Linked DNA regions of Homo sapiens: region 1 is linked to region 2. The links are contacts of gene promoters, found by promoter capture Hi-C in blood cells and fetal thymus (Javierre and others, 2016). All regions are on one chromosome and are shown on one strand. The core of a region is centred on a gene start or on the middle of the fragment in contact, and the rest is flanking DNA. Distances in the headings are between cores, read along the strand shown. Region 1 overlaps CDCA2 (cell division cycle associated 2). Region 2 holds the start of PPP2R2A (protein phosphatase 2 regulatory subunit Balpha).

Region 1 (4,714 bases), core at 1,594-4,093, 790 kb before region 2:
CCAGTAGTGCGAGACCAGCCTGGTCAACATAGCACAACCCCATCTGTATTTTCTTAATATATTACTTAAAAAAAAAAATTCAGAAAAACCCAATAACAATACAACAATTAAAAAAATAAAAATTTTAAAATACAGCATATTAACTATGTAGCATTTATATTGTACTTGGTGTTAAGTCATCTAGAGATGCTTTAAAGCATAGTTATTATGCTGTATTTTTACAGTATAATGCTGTAAAAGGAAGTTTACATATGCTCTATGCAAATACTGTGCCATTTTATGTCGGGGACTTGAGTATCTGCAGATTTTTGGTATCCACAGGAGGTCCTGGAACCAATTTCCCTACAGATACTGAGGGATGACTGTGTTTACTGTTAAAATGAAAAAAGCATGTTATAAAACAATATATGTGGTCAACTACTGGTTATGGACTGAATTGTGTCCCTTCCCAAATTTATATATTGAAGTCCTAACTCCCAGGATCTCAGAATGTGACTGTATTTGGAGATTTGGTCTTTAAAATAGTTATTAATTTAAAATGAGATCCATAGGGTGGGTCCTAATCCACTCTGACTGGTGTTCTTATAAGAGGAGGAAATTCGGACCCACATAAGGACACCAGGGACGAGTGTGCATTGAGAAATAACCATGTGAGGACACAGCAAGAAGGTGGCCATCTGAAGGCCAAGGAGAGAGGCCCCAAGAGACACCAGCCCTGCCAACACCCTGATCTTGCACTGCTAGCCTCCAGAACTGGGAGAAAATTAGTTTCTGTTGTTTGAACTACCTAGTTTGTGACATTTTATTACAGTAGCCTTACAAACTAATACATTACCCTTTGTCTAAGAAAGTAGAGTACACATATAGTTTTGATTTTTCAGTTGAAGAATAAACCAAAGAGAAATAAAAAACTGGCTATAGGGAGAAGGGAGGAGACAGGAGAGAATGTGAATGCAAGCTAGACTTCGTTAAGTGTGTACTGTTTTTCAGTTTTGATTGTGGGACCATTTAAATGTTTTACCTGACTATGAAACAAAACTAAAACTAGTAGAAAGAGAACAATCTCTAATAAGCGAAAGCAAAATTTGACAAATTCTTACTATGTCAAGTTGGTGGCTTAACTTCATTAAGAATTTTTTCAAACCTAGAAATTTGAATATAAGTGGGATAAATCTTTTTTTTTTTGAGATGGAGTCTTGCTCTGTCACCCAGGCTAGAGTGCAGTGGCGTGAGCTCGGCTCACTGCAAGCTCCGCCTCCCGGGTTCATGCCATTCTCCTGCCTCGGCCTCCCGAGTAGCTAGGAATACAGGCACCTGCCACCACGCCCGGCTAATTTTTTATTTTTTATTTTTTAGTAGAGACTGGGTTTCACCATGTTAGCCAGGATGGTCTCGATCTGCTGACCTCGTGATCCGCCCACCTCGGCCTCCCAAAGTGCTGGGATTACAGGCGTGAGCCACTGCGCCTGGCCCTATAAGGGGGATAAATCTTAAGGACAAAAATAACTGCAAAGAAATTATAAACAGTATGAAACACTCAATAGAAGCACTGAATTTAGAATAAAGCAAATAAGCAATTTTTCCCATCATTAAGAATCAAGATGTGCACTCAGAGACAAAAGATATATTTTTAAATCCAACAAATTTAAAACTTTGGAAGACTAAATTTGAATTGGAAATAAGAGTAGAAACTCATTTTATTTTCCATTTAAAAGAATTGTCCAGCTCTATCCATTGATAAAGCTTAAAATTCATGAGCATCCCTGGTGCATAGATTATCATTAGACATACCAGTTAAAAGGGGTTAGGGTCCCTTGGTGAAATGGCTGCTTTCAGATTTACAACAACAAATTTAATAAGTGAGCCTGGTTGGGTCTGTACCAGAGTACAAGGAAGGATGCTAAAAAAAACTACTGGTGTCATGTTAACAGACACAAATCCATCTTCAAGGGACTTACACTGACCAGATATGATCATCAGCATTGCAAAGCATTGAAGTACAATCATGAAATAACACATAAGTTTATTACTTTTTTTTAATTAATGGACACTTTAGAAGCTTGCTAGGATACCCACTCATTTTTCTGATAACAGGAAAATAAAATTTGAGCTCTATTTCAGGTAAACAAATAGTTGATGAGGGAAAAGTTGTTTATAGAAGAATTTCAGGTAATAAAAGAAATGCTCAACAAAGCTGCTTAAAACGTTTGATAAAAGGCTGATGTGACATAGTAACAATCAACAGAGGAAAGAAACACCGTATAGAATGGGAGAAGATACTGTAACTACAAACCATACATCTGATAAGGGGTTAATAGCCAAAATGTATAAGAAACTCAAACAGCTCATTAGCAAGAACACACCAATTTAAAAATGGTCAAAGGTCCAGAATAGACAGTTCTCAAAAGACATGCAAATGGCTAACATCACTAATCATCAGGGAAATGCAAATTAAAACCACAATGAGATATCACTGGCTATTATCAAGCAGATGAAAGATTACAAGTGTTGGAGAGGATATGGAGAAAAGGGAATCCTTTGTACACTATCAATAGGAATGTAAATTGCTACAGCCTGTTTTGATTGGCAAAGTCAACTAAAAATATAGAACTGAATCTCTAAACAAAATGTTTTATTTGGGAAAACGTAATTGCAGTTTGGGGCAAACACACAGACCGAGGTGGTCTTTGATATGTCCTAAGAACGTAGAAAGTTGGGGTTTTTAGTAGAAAAAGAAATGTTACATATTATTTAGAAAAAAAACTCACTGGCCCTAAGCAAAATTTTGGGGAGCTGGTAAACTCTGGTGAGTGATGGTGGTAGTTAAATTTAGTCTTACAGTCCCAAGTGCTTTTTTTCCCCTGGTCTCTGGACTCTAGTTGTTTATGACACAGTGACTCCAAATAATCCATTTTCACAAGCCATTGTGGGAAACATTACGGGGGTTCCTCAAAAAATTAAAAATAGAACTACCATATGATCCAGCAAATCCCACTTCTGGGTATGTATCCAAAGGAAATCAGTATATCAAAGAGCGATAACCAAGTTACAGACTCAAGCTGAGTATCCATCAACAGGTGAATGGATAAAGAAAAAATATGTGTGTACACACACAACAAAATGCTATTCAGCCTTAAAGAAATCCTGTCATTTTGACAGCATAGAAGGACCTTAAGGGCATTACGTTAAGTAAAATAGTCCAGGCACAGAGAGACAAGAAGATCTTACTTACATGTGGAATCTTTAAAAAATAAAAAATAAAAAAAAAAAAAACTCACAGAAGCTGAGAATAGAATGGTGGTTGTCAGGGGGGCTAGTGGCTTGAGTGGTGGGGGATGAGGAGATGTTGGTTCAAGGGTACAAAGTTTCAGTTAGGATGAGTAAGTTCTGGAGATCTGTTGTACAGCATGGTGACTAGGAAATAATAATGTATATGGGAAAATTGCTAAGAGATGACATTGTAAGTGTTCTTGCCATAAAATAATTATGTGAAGTGGTGGATATGTTAGTTTAATCATTTCCCAATGTGTACATATGTCAAAACCTCTCATCCACCATGCTATATGCAATTTTTAATTTGTTGGTTATACAATTGTATTCAAATTTGCCCATCAAAACTGAATCTAATCAAGCTTCTAGATCTAATTACCAATTTATAGGACATGGAGGAACATAGACTCACCTACTGTAGTGAGCCAAATCTAGGACTTGGCTAATTCTATAGGAAAAATGCCTCAATTTACTCACCAAATAAATGTCAAGGGAAGTAAAAAAGGAGCCATAGAATAAAAGAGACTAAAAGACATGAATCAAATGGTATGTGTGGAGATCTTATTGGGGTCCTGATTAGAACAGTTGTTTTAGAAAAAGAAATTATGGGCCAAGGGAGAAATTTGAACTTTGAGGAGATACTAGGGAAAATTGCCATCATGGTTTTTGTGTTTTGTTGAATTACATTTTGTTTTGTTTTGTTTTGTTGGAATGGAGTCTCGCTCTGTCGCCCAGGCTGGAGTTCAGTGGCACGATCTCGGCTCACTGCAACCTCCTCCTCCCCGGTTCAAGTGATTCTCCTGCCTCAGCCTCCCCAGTAGCTGGGACTACAGGTGTGCACCACCATGCTCAGCTAATTTTTGTATTTTTAGTAGAGACGGGGTTTCACTATGTTGGCCTGGCTGGTCTCAAACCCCTGTCCTCAGGTAATCTGCACCCCCCCCCCGCCCCCCAGGCCTCCCAAAGTGCTGGGATTACAGATATGAGCCTCTATCCCTGGTGTACATTTTAAGTTTTGTGATCATTTTGGATACACACACTCTTCTAAGAAGTAATGCAGAAAGATCCCAAGTACCCTTTACCTAGTTTCCCCCAATTGTGACATCTTGCGAAACCATAGTTCAGGGTCGCAGCCAAGATATTGATACAGCCGAGATCCAGACAGCTTTCCCATGGCCCTTTGTAGCTACATCCACTTCCTACCCATAACCCCGCCTCATCCCCTGGCAACCACTAATCTTTCTTCATTCCTACAGTTTTGTCATTTCGAAAAGGTTACCCAAATGGAGTCATGTACTGTGTAACTCGGGGACTGGCTTTTTCACTCAGCATAATTCTCTGGAGATTTGTCCAGGTTGTTATGTGTATCAGTAGTTCTTTTTATTGTTGAACCATATTTGTAATTGTCTCTAATAGAAAAAGAACCTTTAACTCTTCAAGACAC
Region 2 (4,511 bases), core at 1,755-4,254:
CACATGCCTATAGTCCCAGCTACTAGGGAGACAGAGGCAGGAGGATCACTTGAGCCCAGGAGTTTGAGGCTGCAGTGAGATATGATCATGCCACTGCACTCCAGCCTGGGTGACAGAGCTAGACTCTGTCTTTAAAAGAAAAAAAAGTTTTGTTTTTTTTTGTTTTTGAGAGGGAGTTTTGCTTTTTGTCGCCCAGGCTGGAGTGCAATGGCTTGATATCGGCTCACCACAATCTCCGCCTCCCTGGTTCAAGCGATTCTCCTGCCTCAGCCTCCCGAGTAGCTGGGATTACAGGCACGCACCACCACACAAGGCTATTTTTCTTGTATTTTTAGTAGAGATGGAGTTTCTCCATGTTGGTCAGGCTGGTCTTGAACTCCCAACCTCAGCTGATCCACCTGCCTTGGCCTCCCAAAGTATTGGGATTACAGGCGTGAGCCACCGTGCCTGGCAAAAATGTTTTTTTAAGTGGAAGATAGATATGGAAGTGAGATGGACAAGAGCAACCCTTGACTCTGGGCTAGCGGGTGTTCTGGCCTCTCCTCCTAATGGCCATTCTGATGAAAGGGAGGTGGCTTATGGTCCTCTGAAAGGGCTGACCAGGGCCCAAAAAGAGCCAGGTCGTTTACACCAGGGTGCCAGGGTGCACTGGCCCTTGATTATCAGACCCAAGTCAGCCCATTCCACAGGCATGCAGTACCCCCAAGGCTCCAAATAATGTTCTTAAAACAGCACCTGGCACAAAGTCGGTGCTATATACATTTTTGTTATAATTATCCCAGTTTCTAGGCAAGCTTTATTGGCTTCTAAGAACAAATCATTTATGTAAACCAAATCATTTTCAGGGTATGTAAAGTCTATATTCTCTTTTTCTGTCTTCCTTTCTCTCTCTCTCCTTCCTTCTGGGTTCTGGTTAAGATGGAGAGCTCTCCCTGGAGAGTCTGGGATTGAACCACCAAAGAAGGGCAGAGCAAGCAAAAAGGAAAATAAATGAAGGCATACCCAGAGAAATACATTTATGAAAAACACCAGCATTGAAGAAAATACAGCACGCAGTGCACTGAAGTTTTGTACCTGTTGTACAGGTAGCCAAAAGATGACACATAGAGGGTGGATTTTTAGTTTTGATTAATTCATTGGTAACGTGGGAAATATTCATGCAGAAACAGAGGAATGATCATGCAGTGGTGCAGTTGTTCCTTTGAAGGAATTTTGAACGTTGCATTACAGTTCAACTGTCCTGGAAATCAAAAATATGGTAGAAAGTGGAGATGGTGGGGAGGACGTGTAAATATCTTTAACTCCCCCTTCTTGGTTTCCAAACGCCTTTATCACTCCATTCAGCCTTAGGCCAAATTCTGGATGCTTTTACAGGTGTTTTTCACGTGTAAAATGTGCATATCTATCTCCTAGGAGTATCGTGGAGATGGAATGGGATATGTAAAGTGTGCTGTATATAGCAACTGCATCATTAGAGCATCTTTCAACAGAAGTGCACATCCCCTCATAGCTGATGACTGGCATTTCCTGTTCATTTTTTTCCTTCTACCTCTTAACCTTACTGACGATGCTTTCAATACAAATCTAATAATAACGGCAGCTAACATTTATCATGTGCTCAAATTAAGTCATTTCATCTCCCCAACAATCCTATCAGGTAGGACTGTCATCTTCATCTCCTGAGCCTTGGAATCATATTAGGCAGCCTGGCTTCAGAGCCCAGCACTTTTTGTGTTTTTGTTTTTGTTTTGACAGGATCGCATTCTGTCTCCCAGGCTGGAGTGCAGTGATGTGATCACATAGCTCACTGCAGCCTTGACCTACTGGGCTCAAGCAGTCCTCCTACTGCAGCCTTCTAGTAGCTGGGACTATAGGCACGCCATCATACCTGGCTAATTTAAAAAAAAAAATTTTTTTTGGAGAGATGGGTCTCCCTATGTTCTCCAGGCCGAACTCGGAACTCCTGGCCTCAAGCGATCCTCCCACCTCGGCTTCCCAAAGTGCTGGGACTACAGGCGTGAGCCACCGCGCCCGGCCCTGAGCCCAGCTCTTAAGCACGCAGTCCAACACGTTTAGCTGGAGAGACGCCGGGTCACTTCTTGGGCCATACCCTCTCATCACAAACTCAGGTTTCTCTTAGAAATCACTCTTAGTGTCCGCAGTGCCTAGGACTCCCGCCTTGGATCCTGGGGCCCACGAGAAGGTAATTTAATTCACCCAGATAGAACCAGCCCAATCGTGTCCCTCTGAACCCCGTGAACTTTCACCCCGGCTGAGCAGTAAGTCTGCACCGCTGTCCCTTTCTTTGTGGTCTCAGGGCTAATCCAAAGTGACAATTTCCTAAGAAGCAGTACGGGGTTTTTTGTTTGTTTGTTTTTTGTTTTTGAGACGGAGTCTTGCTCTGTCACCCAGGCTGGAGTGCAGTGGTGCGATCTCGGCTCACTGCAACCTCTGCCTCCCGGGTTCAAGCAATTCTCACACCTCAGCCTCCCAAGTAGCTAGGATTACAGGCGCACACCACCACGCCTGGCTAATTTTTGTATATTTTTAAGTAGAGACGGGGTTTCACCATGTTGGCCAGGCTGGTCTCGAACTCCTGACCTTGTGATCCGCCCGCCTCAGCCTCCCAAAGTGCTGGGATTACAGGCATGAGCCACCGTGCCCGGCCCAGGTATTCCTAGAAGACATAGGACCCCATGAATCCTTGCAGGAGAGCACGTAAACTGGACTCCTAAGCCCGCCCCAGAGCCCCGGCGCTAGTGCTCGAGGCTGGGACACTGCTAGGTGCACACAGCCGCGGCCTGGCGCAGGCGGTGCGGACAGAGGGTATGCCATGGCGAGACGCTGGCGCGGCGCAGGCCCTGCCGGCCGGGACACGGAGGGCGGGGCACAGGCGCAGCAGGAAGGGGGCGTGGCCAAGAGCCGCCCGGCCGCTCCCCCGCCCCTCCCCCTCCGCTCTCCGCCCCAGCCCGGCGGCTCCGCCCCCTAGGTGACGTCACTGGCCAGGCCAGCCGGCGCCATTTTGAAAGTGGAGTCGCCTGCCCCTGCCGCTGCCGCCGCCGCCGTCGCTGTCGTAGTCGCCGCCGCCGCTGCCGGAGAAAGAGCACGAGCGGGGAAGCCCCAGAGTGAAATCTAGCATCCTGCCGGCTGGTCTGCCCGCCCCTCCTTCCTTTTCCCCCCGGCCCCCGTCCCCTCCCCCCGCAGGTGCCATCCGCCGCCATCCGCCCTCTCTACCCCCCCATCCCCAGGTGAGGGGGGTGAGTTCAGGAAGCGGAGACCCCGAGGAACCCAGCAGGGTCACCATTTGCAGCGCAACATGGCAGGTAAAGGAGAAATCCCCCTCGCCCCCTGACAAGGCACCGCTTCCTTATTCCTCCCTCCATCACCCCCTAGCGACCGCCCGCGCCTCGCGCAGAGCCACAGGGCGCCCCTCGGGTTTGAGGGAGTAGGGTCCAGAGGGGTGGGGTGGGGGCGGGGAGGGCTCCCGGGAGGCAAGTGGTCACGGTGAGAGTCACTGGGCTTGGAGAACGGGGCTGGCGCCGTGGCGGGGGTGGGGGTGGGGTGTGCCGGCGAGCTTGGGGTGAGGCGTGGGTGGGGCGGGGTGGGGGTGCGTGCAGATTTGTCCCTCCCGCTCGGGAGCCTGGTGGATCTTCTCCCACCTCCCCACCTTGCCCCCCGCCTTTATTTTTTTTTCCTGCAGGTCTTCATTTAATTTCTATTTTTCCCCCTGCTGCAAGCCTTCTTGGGTGTATATACACATTTATTTTGCCTCGAGAAGGAAGAGCGCCTTATAAGTTAAAATACAGTGGGGGCATATGTGTATTTTTTCCCCACTGTAGATGCCAATATTTTTGAGACTGGAAGCCTAAATTTTTTGTTTCGAACCATTTCGTTTCCGTTTCTTCCCTTTTACCGCCGAAGAGTGCAAGGCCTTTCATGTACAGCAAGTTGCATGAAAATAATTTAAACTTTGCGTTTAGCATGTTAGCTTTTTTGCAGATGTCCTTTTCCCAAAAGGGTTTGGTAGAGTTAGTTAAAATAGTTGCGGAGTTCAGAGATATAAATAGCAAGGAGGAGAGAGATTTAGGTAGAAGCTTTGAAGGGGAGGGGAAAGGATGTAGAGAGAAAACCAGTTTGGAAATAAATTTAGCAAGGAATAGGGGTGATGGGGGAGAGAGAAGTAATGTAATTGCTTTGAGAATTCTTTTTGTACATGTTGGTATTGCTAAATCTTTTCCTTCATGTAGTAGAATCAGTTGCAGATTTAGATTCAGTTTCTTTCTCCCTAGAGCCCCAGGACATTTTCAATCATTTCGACCTCAGTACTTGCACGTGAAATAGAAACATTCCGAGATGAGACCAGTTTTCCGTGCTGTATTCATTATTTAGATAATTAAACCTTTTGAAAAAGTTAACATGTCGGATTGACTTACGGTTTGCTATAAACAAGTTGCTTGTTGGCCTTGTTGAAAAATGAAATGAGATTAAAATTGTTTTGCACGAGATGACAT

Evidence for each region. The method cuts DNA at HindIII sites, captures the fragments that hold promoters and counts their contacts. A CHiCAGO score of 5 or more calls a contact.
Region 1: a contact is called between a fragment that was not itself captured here and the fragment with the promoter of PPP2R2A in region 2, in 1 of 17 cell types (megakaryocytes). The highest score is 5.5, in megakaryocytes.

What each region holds. Positions count from the first base shown.
Region 1 is chr8:25,494,248-25,498,961 of GRCh38, forward strand. The region is part of intron 13 of CDCA2 (cell division cycle associated 2); the gene reads left to right. Among named protein-coding and RNA genes, the nearest start is that of CDCA2, 37 kb to the left of the region's middle. The HindIII fragment of the contact is 1,573 bases long and covers 2,058-3,630 here.
Region 2 is chr8:26,288,504-26,293,014 of GRCh38, forward strand. PPP2R2A (protein phosphatase 2 regulatory subunit Balpha) reads left to right here and starts at 3,005. Exons shown (of 10, transcript NM_002717.4): 1 at 3,005-3,323. The coding sequence starts at 3,317. RefSeq lists a silencer at 2,807-3,156. The HindIII fragment of the contact is 3,300 bases long and covers 793-4,092 here.